Regions from separate parts of the Homo sapiens genome. Here region 2 is linked to region 1. The links are contacts of gene promoters, found by promoter capture Hi-C in blood cells and fetal thymus (Javierre and others, 2016). All regions are on one chromosome and are shown on one strand. The core of a region is centred on a gene start or on the middle of the fragment in contact, and the rest is flanking DNA. Distances in the headings are between cores, read along the strand shown.

Region 1 (7,023 bases), core at 2,926-5,425:
TTGCTTGCAGCCTACTTTTCCCACCAGAGGCACCTGGCCCTGCCCGCCAGTCCTCAGGCCCATCCTGTCTCTGTCCACAGTGCCCTCAGCCAGCATGACCCGCCTGGCACGCTCCCGCACTGCATCCCTCACCAGTGCCAGCTCGGTGGATGGCAGCCGCCCACAGGCCTGCACCCACTCAGAGAGCAGCGAGGGGCTGGGCCAGGTCAACCACACCATGGAGGTGTCCTGTTGAAGCCCTTGATCCCGCTGACGACGCCCACGTCGAGGCCCCACCGCCATCCTTGCGCCGGCTCATGTTCCCTTTAGTTTATTTTTGTGAGGGCAAAGGGGAGGAAATGGGGTTCTGTTTGAAAAAAATGAGGGGATCTTAGATGCTGCAGCAGAACAGTCTCCAGGTGTTTTAAGGGGCTCAGTCCTCCTCATCCCATCTCACTCTCCGTGGTAACTTAGCCAACTTGACCCCTCTCATCCCACTCCCGGCGGCCCAGGCACAGAAGGGCAGGGCCATAGGGAGGGAGATTCGCTACGGATCCAGGCCATTCCTGGGTGAGCCCTTGGGCAGGCATGTTTGGAGATGAGAGAGGCTTCGAGAGGGTGGGTGCTGGGCCACAGGGGTGCGGGGCCAGCTCAGGCACTGGCGTGGGAGCCCTGGGAGACCCCTTCCCCCACCCTCCACCAAGCACACCTGTTTCTGTCTCATAGCACATGTGACAATCATCTGGACAACAGCCACAAGGGGGCGCTCGGACCAGGCAGCCACTTTCCTGGTGCTCTCTGGGCCCAGCTGGTGCTGTAGGGCCACGCAGGCAGGGGCGTCAAGGGGTTTCTCTGCCCAAGGAAGACAGAACATGGAGAACCGTCAGGGCAGGAACCCCACAGACTGTCCCTTCCAGCCCACACTCTGCCACCTCCTGGCCCTGTCCCAATTCTGAGCCAAGGCCTCCCCGAGGCAGAAGTTGCCTGGTCCTCTGTCCCCACAGTGACCTGACTGGGGGTGAGGGAGAAGGAGGAGAGAGCCCATGTGTGGTGTGTGTGCCCCTGAGAACTTCGTGGTGACTGCCTTTGGGAGCCCGCAGGTGGCCAGAGGCAGGGGTAGCTGAGTTCCTGGAGACCCCTTTTTTGCCCCCAGGTTCCCCAGAGGGCAACGCCATCAGTAGCAGTGTGGTGTTTCAGGCAGAGCTCTGGCCAGGCTGTGCCAGTGTGTCCCGGACGCATCACTAAGGAAGAGAGAGTTTATTTAGTCAACTGGCCCAAGGCAGCGAGGCTTCTACAGTCCCACACCCCATAGCCGCCTGGGCTGGGGCTTACTGGGGGCTGAAGGTTCTGGACATGAACAAGGGTCAGGTAGAAGAGAAAGGCTTCCCCTACACCCCAGCCTCCTGCTGTCCCCTGAAGCCCAGGACTGCGTTGTATGCTTTCCATCCACTCACCTTACCCCATAGCATCTTGCGGCCCAGAAACCAGAGCCATTTGTCTCAGACCCTAAATCAATAATCACAAACCCCAAAACGGGAGAGAGCAGTGAAAACATGCAGGGCTGTGGACGGGGGAAGGGTTGTGGCGGGTGTTCTGAGGCTGAGAGGACACCTATATGCGTATTTCCTCTACACACATCACCCCCCTTCTATAATCTTAAGCCATGACTAGCCTGGTGGCGTGTTAGTTTCTGCCCAGTTCTACCCCCTCATGTGCTTCTTCTGAATACTGAATGTGACTGTTTGAAAGCTGGTAGAATTCATCCCTCTTACTGTAGATAACACTGCAAATCTTGGAATTTTGTTTTTTGCTGTTTCCAGATGTATCTATAAATATCTATACATTATATGTGTGTGTGTGTGTGTGTGTGTGTGTGTACATCGGGTCCTCCCATGTGTGGTGTTCTTCTGGAGGTTGTCTCTTTGGTCAAGGTGAACTTTTAATGTTTATTATTTTCTTCTCCGCACAAAGTAAAGAGCCTAATTTTGTGTATTCTGGTGGCTGCTGTCATGAGATGATAAAATGTAAAACAAAACTCTAGTCAACGTAGAAAGAGTTAACTGTGCTGAAAAACTAATAAAGAACCTAAGAAGAATTCCAGTGTGGTGATGCCATGCCCATCATGGGAGGCTTTTGGAGAAACAGAATGTTTGGGCAGGGGCTGCTGGTGCTGCTTGGGTTTTGGGTTGAGGGTGCTAGGAGAGGATGGTCTCCACCCATCTTTCTATTTCCAGTACACGTCACATTATTTTACCGGTGAGATGAGAATGTCACAAACATTAAAAGCCTTATGTGCTCATTTCTGCTTATGTGCTCATTTCTCCCCTGACTCTGTGACAAAATACAGCTCTCCTCAGCCAGGCACGGTGGCTCAAGCCTGTAATCTCAGCACTTTGGGAGGCTGAGGCGGGCAGATCACTTGAGGCCAGCAGTTCGAGACCAGCCTGGGCAACATGGTGAAACCCCGTCTCTACTAAAAATACAAAAATTAGCTGAGCATGGTGGCGCGTGCCTGTAATACCAGCTACTCGGGAGGCTGAGGCAGGAGAATCGCTTGAACCTAGGAGGCAGAGGTGGTAGTGAGTGGAGATCGTGCCACTGCACTCCAGCCTGGATGACAGAGCAAGACTCTGCCTCAAAATAAAACAAAAAAACAAAATACAGCTCTCCAGAAAAAAATGCCTTAAAGACAAAACAAAACACCCCTGCCCTCCAAATCTCTTGCCTGAGTCACTACATTCCTTCAAAGATAAATGACCTACTCTTTGCCTTCTCCTAAACATACGATCATGTCTGACAGGGTTAATGATTATACTCTGCAATCTATAACCAGATATACTTATCCCTAAACTTTGATATGATTTTACACATACTAAATCTTCACCTATGTATAACCTAAACTAAAATACCGTGTTAGAGGAGCCTCACAAGATTACTCCTGGGCTACAGGCCTCAGTCTATAGTCCTCAATAAGGCTTCTAAATAAAACTAATTTTAATTATTTAAAAGCTTAATATTTTTTCTTTAGTCAACATACCAATCCTTACATTAATTCTACAGAGTAGGTATTATCTTAGTTTCGCAGGTGAGGAGACTAAGGTTCAGGAAAAAGGATTTGCCTGAGTAACAGACCAGGCCGCGCGCGGTGGCTCACGCCTGTAATCCTAGCACTCTGGGAGGCCGAGGCGGGGGGATTGCCTGAGCTCAGGAGTTCGAGACCAGCCTGGGCAACGCGGTGAAACCCCGACTCTACTAAAAATAAACACAAAAAATTAGCTGGGCATGGCAGCGTACGCCTGTAGTCCCAGCTACTTGGGAGGCTGAGGCAGGGGAATTGCTTGAACCCGGGAGGTGGAGGTTGCAGTGAGCCGAGATCGCACCACTGCACTCCAGCCTGGGCGAGACTCCCGTCTCCCCAACGCGCCAAAAAAAAAAAAAAAAAAAAGGAAAAAAAAAAAAAACTGAGTGTTGAGCTGCGGCGTTGCTTGGCTTCAAAACCCATTCCTGTAACCTCTATATTCACAGCCTCATTTTCTTACATTTAACAGCATGCTACTTCCCCAGGTTTAACCACCATTTGTTTTATTCATTTATTTACCCAATAGGTAGATATTGAGTCCCTACTATGTCAGCTAATAAAACCCACCACGTGCTATGCAGCAGATTAAAAACGAGGATGTACTGGCAAATAAGGGCAGAGAGGATCTATTCTAGATCCAGGAGCCCTCTAGGCCACGCCACTCTGAAACACACACGAAAACTGCTCTGAACGAATACCACCAGTAAAAGGGTTCCATGGCCATCGGCAACAAGGGGTCGAGATCAGGAGGTCGCTCGCCGCCCAGTTGCGTCGCTCACCACCGGCCGGCCACCAGACCCTCGGCTTCCGATCCAGAAACCGTATTTTGTTCTTGCACCCAGACCGCAAGAAGCCTCAGCCCTCGGGGACAGACCGAAGGCCAGGGCTGTACCTGGCTCAGAACCAGGCGCCAAGCGGCACGGGACTCTCCTTCTGCACTCGCAGCGCGTGAGTGCAATTGGAGATCCTGGACTCAAGATGTTTTCATGAGGAACGATTCCAGCCCGCGGTAACTCCGGCCAGTCTGCAGCGTGGACGACAAAACAGGCACCACGTGGTTCCGGCGCCGGGGCGGGGCCAGAGACGCCGGAAGTGACCGCGCGGTGCGCCGGCCCGCGAGGAAACGCGCTCTTAGACCATGGCGACCCAGGCGAAGCGTCCACGGGTGAGTGGCGGGCGCGGGGTCCAGCCTTTTCCTCCGCGCCTCACCCCTTCTCCGTTCGCAGAACCGTCCGCCTGCGCCCCCTCCGCTCCCTCCCGCGGGTCCCGCGCCCCTCTCCGCTCGTCCCCTCCTCCACCCAAAGCCCGTTCTGCGCTCGCGCCGCGGTCTCCTGCAGTTCCCAGCGGCCTCTCTGGGGGTCGGACCTGGTCACTGCGCGCACTTATCTCAGGTGGCGGGGCCCGTGGACGGCGGCGACCTGGATCCTGTGGCCTGCTTCCTGAGCTGGTGCCGGCGGGTGGGGCTGGAGCTGAGTCCCAAGGTGAGCGAGCGAGCCGGCGGGCGGAGGACCCGCGGCGGGGCGCGGGCTGCCCTGACCAGCCCTCCTGCTCAGGTGGCGGTCAGCCGGCAGGGCACGGTGGCCGGCTACGGCATGGTGGCCCGGGAGAGCGTGCAGGCCGGAGAGCTGTTGTTCGTGGTGCCGCGGGCCGCGCTCCTGTCGCAGCACACCTGCTCCATCGGCGGCCTGCTGGAGCGAGGTGGGCACGGCGGCGGGCTAGGGCCCTGGGGCGGGGCGGGGCGGGGCGGGGCGGGCCCGGCCCGCGAGGCCGCGCCGGGGCGCTCACACCTGTGTCTTCCTCAGAGCGAGTTGCGCTGCAGAGCCAGTCGGGCTGGGTGCCACTGCTGCTGGCGCTGCTCCACGAGCTGCAGGCCCCGGCCTCACGCTGGAGGCCCTACTTTGCGCTCTGGCCCGAGCTGGGCCGCTTGGAGCACCCGATGTTCTGGTGAGAGCCTTGGGAGGGGTTGGGGAGCGCCTGCACCGTAGCCTGCTGCAAGAAGTTTCCCCGCCCCTGCACCAGTCCTACCCAGTAAAGTGTGTGAAGGAATGAAGGGAACCTGGGTGTGGGTGTCCCTGCAGGCCAGAGGAGGAGCGCCGGTGCCTGCTCCAGGGCACAGGCGTACCTGAGGCCGTGGAGAAGGATTTGGCCAACATCCGCAGCGAGTACCAGTCCATCGTGCTGCCCTTCATGGAAGCCCACCCCGATCTCTTCAGCCTCAGGGTTCGCTCCCTAGAACTCTACCACCAGCTGGTGGCCCTTGTGATGGCCTATAGGTCAGTGGGTGGGGCCTCTGAGGACGGAACCCTTTTCTTTACAACTCTATAGAGGGACAAAAGTGGAAAAACAGTGAAATCCACCCCCAGTCCCTCACCCAAGACAGGGCCTTAGCCAGGTTCTGTCAATGGCAGCTTTCAGGAACCACTGGAGGAAGAAGAGGATGAAAAGGAGCCCAACTCCCCCGTGATGGTGCCTGCTGCAGACATACTAAACCACTTAGCCAATCACAACGCCAATCTAGAATACTCTGCGGTGAGTGGAGTTTCTCTTGGTGCACTGATTGAGCATGATTCAAGCCATTGTGTCTTAGGCTCCATTCTCTTACTAGTGCTACAAAATGAGTAGGTGAAATCAGCTCCTCCTGTATGTCCTTTTAGTATGCATATTACTGTAGAATCATTTGAATGCGAAACATTTTAAAGTCCTCAAAGTAAGTTGTGGTTAATCCTCTGATAAACTATACTACCATCATTTATTTAGTGCTAGACATTGAGTGGTCTGCATAGCCATGTTTCATTCCTTTCTGGCTGATCACATCAGTGAGCCCAGACTGTGTGTGGCTCTGTGGATAGCAGCCTGGAACAGTGATAGTCTCCGTGTTTTGGAGGGATGAGGACATTCACAGGCCAAAGGTCTAAGACGATCCTAGAACTGATATAAAGCTGTGTTTATACCAGCTCTATTCTATATAAAAAGTAGCCTGAAAAGATGGCACATTTATAGGATCAGAAATTAGTAAGTATGGTTATTTCTTAATCCTTGCCTCCATTTTCCTTTCCCACTTTGATCTGCGAAAGTTCCATTTTTTCCCCCCCGAGGCGGAGTCTCACTGTGTCGCCCAGGCTGGAGTGCAGTGGCGTGATCTCGGCTCACTGCAACTGCCGCCTCCTGGGTTCAAGCAATTCTCCCTGCCTCAGCCTCCCGAGTAGTTGGAATTACAGGCTCCTGCCACCATGCCCGGCTAATTTTTGTATTTTTTAGTAGGGATGGGGTTTCTCCGTGTTGGCCAGGCTGGTCTTGAACTCCTGATCTCAGGTGATCTGCCCACTTTGACCTCCCTAAGTGCTGGGATTACAGGTGTGAGCCACTGCGCCTGGCCGAAAATTTCGTTTTTAAAGCTAGCAACTTTTTAAGTGCTGAAGAGGACTGTGCAGAAATCCACCCAGTTAAACATGAAGCTGGCCTTTTAAAGTTAGCCCAACCCTTTTTTGTTTCACAGTTTAGGGTCTAACAGGAACTAAAGGTAGAACTTTGGTAGTTAACAGCATCAGTCATGGCTGAACTACACCTGCTGAAGGCTCTTCTTAAGTGGAAATAATCTTCATGGGGCTGGCCCGTGAAAGGCATGGCCCCAGCTTCTCCCTTTCACCTCAGAATTGTCTTCGGATGGTAGCCACTCAGCCCATTCCTAAAGGCCATGAGATTTTCAACACTTATGGGCAAATGGCTAACTGGCAACTGATTCATATGTACGGTTTTGTTGAACCATATCCTGACAACACAGATGACACAGCTGACATTCAGATGGTGACAGTTCGTGAGGCAGCATTACAGGGTGAGTGTATCATTAACTCAATATTTGACACTGATGGTGTGTCTATACCCATGCCTCAGGTTAAATAGCTTTGCTAAATAGCAGTTGACTTTGTAGACTGGGTGGCAGACTAAAGAAGAAATGAACCCTTGGG
Region 2 (7,023 bases), core at 2,988-5,487, 340 kb before region 1:
GTGGTGCGTGCCTGTAATCCCAACTACTCAGGAGGCCGAGGCGGGAGAACTGCTTGAACCCGGGAGGTGGAGGTTGCAGTGAGCCGAGATCATGCCACCGCACTCCAGCCTGGGCGACAGATAAAAAAAGAAAGAATGCTTGTTATTTGAAGATCAAGAACAGGCACTACTAACTATGGGGATACATATAAAGATATAATCTTCAGAGGAGACACTGAACAGAAGAACACAAGAGAGCCCTGCAGGATGTTCACAATATCCTCTACCAGCCCTGTCCAATAGGACCTTCTGCAATGATGGAAATATTCTATTCCTGCACTCTATAATACGGTAGCCACTAGCCACATGAGGCCACTGAGCACCTGAAATGTGCCTAGTGTGATTAGGGAACTAAATTTTATTTTATTATTTTATTTTTTTGTACAGGGCCTTGCTCTGTTGCCCAGGCTAGAGTGCAGTGGCATGATCTCAGCTCACTGCAACCTCTGCCTCACAGGCTCAAGTGGATCCTCCCACCTCCACCTCCTGAGTAGCTGGAACCATAGGCATGTACCACTACACCTGGAGCATGCATATATATATATATATATATATTTTTTTTTTTTTTTTTTTTTTGGTAGCTATGGGGCTTTGCCATGTTGCCCAGGCTGGTCTTGAACTCCTGAGCTCAAGCAATCAACCTGCCTTGGCCTCCCGAAGCATTGGGATTTATAGGCGTGAGCCACCGAGTCTGGCCAGCAACTAAATTTTGAATTTTACTTAATTTAAATAGCTACCTATGGGCAGTGGTTACTAACTATACTGGATATCATCGTCCTGTGTAAATCTGGGTGAGAGTTTTACATACACAAACATCCAAAAGACTGTACGTTTAAGATTTATTTACTTCACTTACATTCTACTTCAATTTTTTCCCTCTGTTTTATAATAACTGTAGCAAGATTCCAAAGTGCCTTTGTGGCAGTGCTTTATGAAACCAGGGGTTGTGAGGGCAGACCTCCTTGAATCTGAATCAGGAGATCAGGTTAAGTCACCGAGTCATCACACTGCAGCCCTCAGCCTCAGTTGCTTCTACATTTTCAAAGGAGTTAAATATTTAGTCTTCCCCACTCCTGTTTTTTCTTTTCAAAGAGAAAATTTACCAAGTGTTGATTCTGCTATATTGCCTACTCTTTGTCCAAAGGAATAAACTAATTAAGACCACAATACCTGGCATGTGAAAAATACTCAATGAAAGCAAAGGCTGAACAAATACAGTAAGGTAATTAATTCTTTTGCCAAGTTTCCTAGTCGGACTCCCTATGGAGTTACTGACATGCTTTGAAATTCTTTGGGGAATTATTTCAGTTTTAAAATCTCGTACAGTTTCTGACCATTAAGCATGAATGACGTTTTTCAAGTTTCATCTGGGATTCTACGTCTCATTAGCAAAAATAAGTATATGTCCTCACTGCCTAGCTGCTACCTCCAGAAAGCAGAAAGGACATCAGACATTGAGTGACACCCACATGTCCACCTGGGAAGACCTGCATTAGTTGGATGTCTTTATGGGACCTAAGGGCAGGCTAGCTTATACAACTTTAGCTTTGGCTGATGGTTAAATAACACAAAATCTCAAACCATCTTACTTAAAAATAACCAACTGTGAGATCTGAATTGTAGCTCTCATGGGGTGAGAGTGCATGGGATTACTCAGGAAGCACTTCCAGGAAAGGAGCTAGCCTGACAGTTCACAGGATCATGGCACTGCAAATTTTATCCACACCAATGCTTCAATTTTAGTCTAGAGAAGACATGGAGAAACGTGGGATAAATCAAGCTCGACCTTTTTCGTGTTTCTGATCTTACTGACAAAAAGGAAGACCCATTAGCCATAAGAGTGAACCTTAAATCCACCACCTCAGCTTTCTCTAATAAAAAGTGGTGCGTACAAGTTCTTATAAAAACACATTCATTTCATAGAACTGTTCTTAAGATCTACAACTACCCTAAAACTTTTCACAAGACTGCATATTAATACATGCATTTTTGGAGGCAGTTCATAGTTTTCATTAGGTTCTTAGTGATCCAGGACACAAAAATCTAGGACCCATGGGTGTATTCCATTTTACAAACTGAGCATTCCTTTAAGTGCTTATCTAGACAAACAAAATGATCATTCCTCCACCAACCAGTAATTCTTCAAATTTCATTGTGCTTGGGATTAGTAAGTCTCTTAGACATTCTACCCATCACTTTTCCCTGCATTAACGAGCCACGGCTACAGGGGTAGGTTAGGAAGACTCATGCAAGAAGGGGATGACGACACATGGCAAGGAAAGATGGCTGCAAATGCCTGCCACCCCTGTAGGCATGTCTCTCTATAATATGCCTACATATTCAATGCTTTTCCCATCAAGAGTGGAGTCGGTTTTTCCATGCTTTGAAGCTAGGCTTGGCCATGTGATTTGCTTTGGCCAATAGGGTTATTAGCAAATATGACACAGGTAGAGGGTTGAAAAGTGCCTATACATTGAGGTTTCCCTCTCTCTGCTGCTAGGAACCCCAGGAGGACCACCATGGGAAGCAGCATGAACTTCACAGGCTGGAGGATGAGACCTCAGCTATCCCTGCTGCCCCAGCTGTGGTCCTAGATTGTGAATGAGGTCATCCTGGACCATCCTGCCCCAGTCAAATCAACTGAGACCTAAAGAATCACCTGGCTAACTCAATTATAAGAAACAATAATCATTTTTTAAAAGTCATTAAGTTTGGGATGATTTGTTACATTCACAGTAGGTATTAATAAAGCAGCAAAGAGAAAACATATGGACCAACAAGAGCTATGGGAGGTTCTAAGGTATAATGTCCCTGGTACCCCTTGACTTGGCCACTTTTTTCCCAGTTCCACTGGAAAGTTTCTATGTGAAGATTCCTCGATGGAGGCCTCAATATAAGTTTAAAAACTTCACTAAATCCTCTGGGTATCAAGAAACATTCTGCTTAAGTTCTCTTTGTTCTCTCAAAAACTTATCTTTTAATGAACAGGCCTGAAAAAAATTAATGGTTTATGAACACCACTTACTTTAAGTAGTTCATACATATAAAACCGGATATCAAAGTCTGTCAGGATCTGGTAGAGTTGCTGAAACAGATTCCAGAAAACAGAAAGTTAATTTAGTCTCACTGCATCTTGTCATCCTAAGTGCAGGCCATTCTCTAAGCTTATTTGATACTTAAGTGACTAAGGAATCCCATGACTTTTTTACTACCTGATCTGAAATAAATGGGAAGACTAAAGATGAAGGTTTTATATTTTAATCATCAGAAGAGAAGAAAAAAAAAAATGGAAGGAATTCCAAGGGAGAAAAACATTTAAGCCAACTCAGATCTTTCCTATTTAATGCTCTGTGATTTTGCCAATTACAATTATTAACCACAATTACACCATTGTGAAGTCTAAGTTGTCTGTCTTCACATTCTTACCGAACATCAAGAAAACTAACCCCACTGTAACACCACAGTATACTCTAGAGAAGTGAGTTCTGAGTGGATGGCAGAGCTCTGAAGAACTTCATGGGCTACTGTGGTAAAACAGTGGCGACACAGGCTGTTCTCAAAAAAGAAAAATAAGGAAAAAGGAGGTGCTATAGCATTTGCAGATGGCAAGAGCTTACAAAAAAATCTATACCCTCTGCTCCCCGGAAACCAATTCCAGACTGGAAAAAAAGAACATTTCACAGGCAACACCTGACGTCTTAGGAGTGAAAAAAGACAGGGGTATCAAAAATGATCACTGGCCAAACTGATAGGTAAATGGAAGTTTTCATTATTGGTAATCCAGAGACCCACTCGCTGGGAGTTTTTAAAAAATTTCTAAGAGTCAGAATACATTAATGCTACAAGCTTCATTAAAGGCATCATAAACCCTTGTCAGGAACTCTCATTATCTTTGATATCCAATCAAATCCATGTAAATCTGTTTTCCCATCAATCCAAGCCATGCTTTCTATAAAATTAAGAAACACACCTTTATTAAACTTCTCTTGTTCTTCTATTGAAAGAGAGACTCAAGCAATGTAGGGAATCTCTCCAGGGAACACAGAACAGTGTATATAATGTGTCTCTGTAATAAGGGGGAAAATAAAAACTATACATCCATATTTTCTGTATCTGCAAAAATGATACAGAAGTAATAAAAACTGGTTTCACGTATATATGTGTAAAGGAATAGGCAGCTGGAATACAGGGGAATAAAAGAGACTTTTCACTGTCTACCATTTTATATTTTTGATCCACATATAATGTTCAAAAAAATTTAATAAAAAAATCAAATTTGCCAAGAACCAAATTTAACATTTTCTAAGAATACCAGGTCTTTGCTTTCTCAAGTTTCCCCCTTTAGGTAAGAGTAATTCCCCCTGCCAGCTTAGGAAAAATATTTGATTTCATCAACCTCAGGGCAGCGCAGGGAACGAAATGCACAGGCCAGTACATGGTGTTGTGGGGTTGGGTGGCTGGCCCTGGCTACAGCTGACCCCCATTCAGGCAGAACAACACCAACAAGCCACCACTTCTGCTCAGGAGAGCTTCAGCTACATAACACACACCCAAGCTTTTTGTTCTTCTCCCAGCTCTGCTGCAAGAAGGCTTCTTAGCCAGGACTTGGCTGCACACTGACAGCTTGAATGTAAAGACAGGCTTAAGATGCCATCTCTTGGGTGTCAAAGCAGCTCCTCCTCTGTGAGTTAAGGAAATCACTCACAGAGACTAGGCTAAATTGAACTTCAAGTCAATAAATACGCTATGAAAGAGAAAAGATCTAATTTTCTAACCCTTAGAGGGCTGGAATATTTTATTTCCAGAAAACTAACATGGGCTATCTCATTAGGACTTTTATCTGTGGAAGGCCTCCCTCATCATGTGGTACCTACACCATGCATCTGTATAAATGGTGTAAGCCATAAAAATAAATGTCTCTGGACTGCCAACACAGTATTTCTAGCTACAAAAACCATTAACAATTTAATTCAAAGACACCAGTTGTACACTAGTGTTTAGGACTAAGATATTACAAAGTCCCAAGTGACTGGTTGCCATTCACCCTCACTTCTCAGGATCTCCGGGTAGGAGGAGACCAAACTACATCTGTAACATTTAACCGCCTGGGCCCAAAATTCAAGACTATGCAGGGTCCACAGTCTGGCTTCCTCCGACTTTTGTAGCTCTGTTCTTCACTGTACCCCCAGGAGTCCACAGCTCTGACAAAACAAGCCCGTGTTTGCTGCCTCCACTCTTCCCTCTCTAGCCCTACTCCACCTTAGCCTGTAAAGCCAAAACCAACCTGTCTGCTTTCTACAGAGCTGACAATGATACCTCCCTTCTCTATCTCCATGCCACTGACTCTCCAATGTGGCTGTGCACAGGACACCATTAAGAACACAATGTCCCCAGAGTTAACATTCCTCACACAGGGACTGGTGGTAACCTCAGGTTCTCAAGGTGACTCCTCACTCTGCTGCGTGCTTTGTCCAGACCCCAAGAGTCTCATGCCAACATTCCCTGTGCTTCGTGGCATACACAACAGGGAGAAATGGGTACAGTGGCTGGTGGCAGAGTCATCAAATTTGGTGATAAAAGATCTCTGAACTCTCCCCACCACCCAAGTATGCCAAGGGCCCACTGAACAACTCACTCAGTACCACACCCATTTCCTACACTGAACTCCAACCACATATGAAGTCCTCACACAGCCGAAAAGCAAGTGCTTCATACACCAAACACCATGTATGGCAGCTCTGTCTTGCATACATGTTTTTACAATGTTCACAGTCAATGGAACAAAACAGAAGCACTCTTCCAAGAAACAGAAGTACCAAGAGTCCATGACACATTAGAAAGAGAAACGTCACAAGAACTACACTTTCTCTCCCTTCTTCTTAGCCAGCTACAGGGAGAACATTATTAAACAATCCACTGCAAAATGCTGGCAGGAAGTCAGCTTTGGTTACATTTTCAAAAAATAAATGACTTAAAAGGTGGAAATTTCCTGGGCCTTTTAATTAGCTCCAAAAAGTCTGAGGAGGGCCTCCATGGTGTAAAACCACAGACACCCACAAAGGCATGGCCACAGGTGGGCCTCACTGCTACCGTAGGCATACACACAGCTGTTCAGACTCCAAGTGCAATTCAGCTGCATCACCATGAGCCACAGATCTGAAGACCCCATTCCCAACCATGACCTTCAGGAAGATTCACACTTTTATAAGACAGCTTCCCAGGCAGCTCTGGTCACCTGCCAGATGTGGGAATCACCAACACACCAAACTCTCAAGCCACACAGTGTGTGCACATTCCCTGATATACACAGCTCAGTCTATGCCCATAAATCCCTGTCATGTGTAGAGAGAAGAAAAAGTGGTGGGATACATAAAGTCCAAGCAAAAGAGGTATTTACTGTAGCAGTCACCAGTTTAAGAATTGTTTACATGTAACCTCTAAGTTCCAGAATAAAACCGAGGTCAACGTTTTTAGAAATTTAAGGAAGTAGAATAAATCTTTAATCAAGCAGATCAAAGTTATTACGAATCCCCTGAAAATGTCACTTATTTTCCTACAAGGAAATGACAAAATAATGTTAACGACCTATAATAACATACACGACATAATATAAAAGTACAATTTGTTTCTCCAATTAAGGAAACTATTTAGTCTGTAAACTCAACCTCTAACAGAATTAACAAGGCCTCACATTATTTACTAAGTGGTGATTTACCTCTATGTGAGTGATTTAGAAATCCTCCAAATATCAATATGATTCTACCAGCTTCTTAGGATGGAGCCCATTTGGAGTGTCTTATCGAAATCTTTTTTTTTTTTTTGTATTTCAAAATAGTACCTTAGCTTCTCTTGAGGCGCTTTTTTTTTCTTTCAATTGAGATGGAGTCTCACTCTGTTGCCCAGGCTGGAGTGCAATGGCAAGATCTCTGCTCACTGCAACCTCTGCCCCCTCGGGTTCACGTGATTCTCCTACCTCTGCCTCCT

The links. Contacts are between HindIII fragments. The CHiCAGO score rates a contact against its expected background, and 5 or more counts as called.
Region 2: a contact is called between a fragment that was not itself captured here and the fragment with the promoter of SETD6 in region 1, in 2 of 17 cell types (M2 macrophages and monocytes). The highest score is 6.4, in M2 macrophages.

Annotation. Positions count from the first base shown.
Region 1 is chr16:58,511,342-58,518,364 of GRCh38, forward strand. SETD6 (SET domain containing 6, protein lysine methyltransferase) reads left to right here and starts at 4,176. Exons shown (of 8, transcript NM_001160305.4): 1 at 4,176-4,223; 2 at 4,450-4,756; 3 at 4,861-5,002; 4 at 5,137-5,331; 5 at 5,467-5,587; 6 at 6,710-6,890. The coding sequence starts at 4,197. NDRG4 (NDRG family member 4) reads left to right here. Exons shown (of 15, transcript NM_001242835.2): 15 at 81-2,278. The coding sequence ends at 235. RefSeq lists enhancers at 3,851-4,020, 5,061-5,230, 5,880-6,049 and a silencer at 4,141-4,800. The HindIII fragment of the contact is 14,988 bases long and covers 2,987-7,023 here.
Region 2 is chr16:58,171,387-58,178,409 of GRCh38, forward strand. CSNK2A2 (casein kinase 2 alpha 2) reads right to left here. Exons shown (of 12, transcript NM_001896.4): 5 at 3,065-3,124. Among named protein-coding and RNA genes, the nearest start is that of CSNK2A2, 23 kb to the right of the region's middle. The HindIII fragment of the contact is 709 bases long and covers 3,884-4,592 here.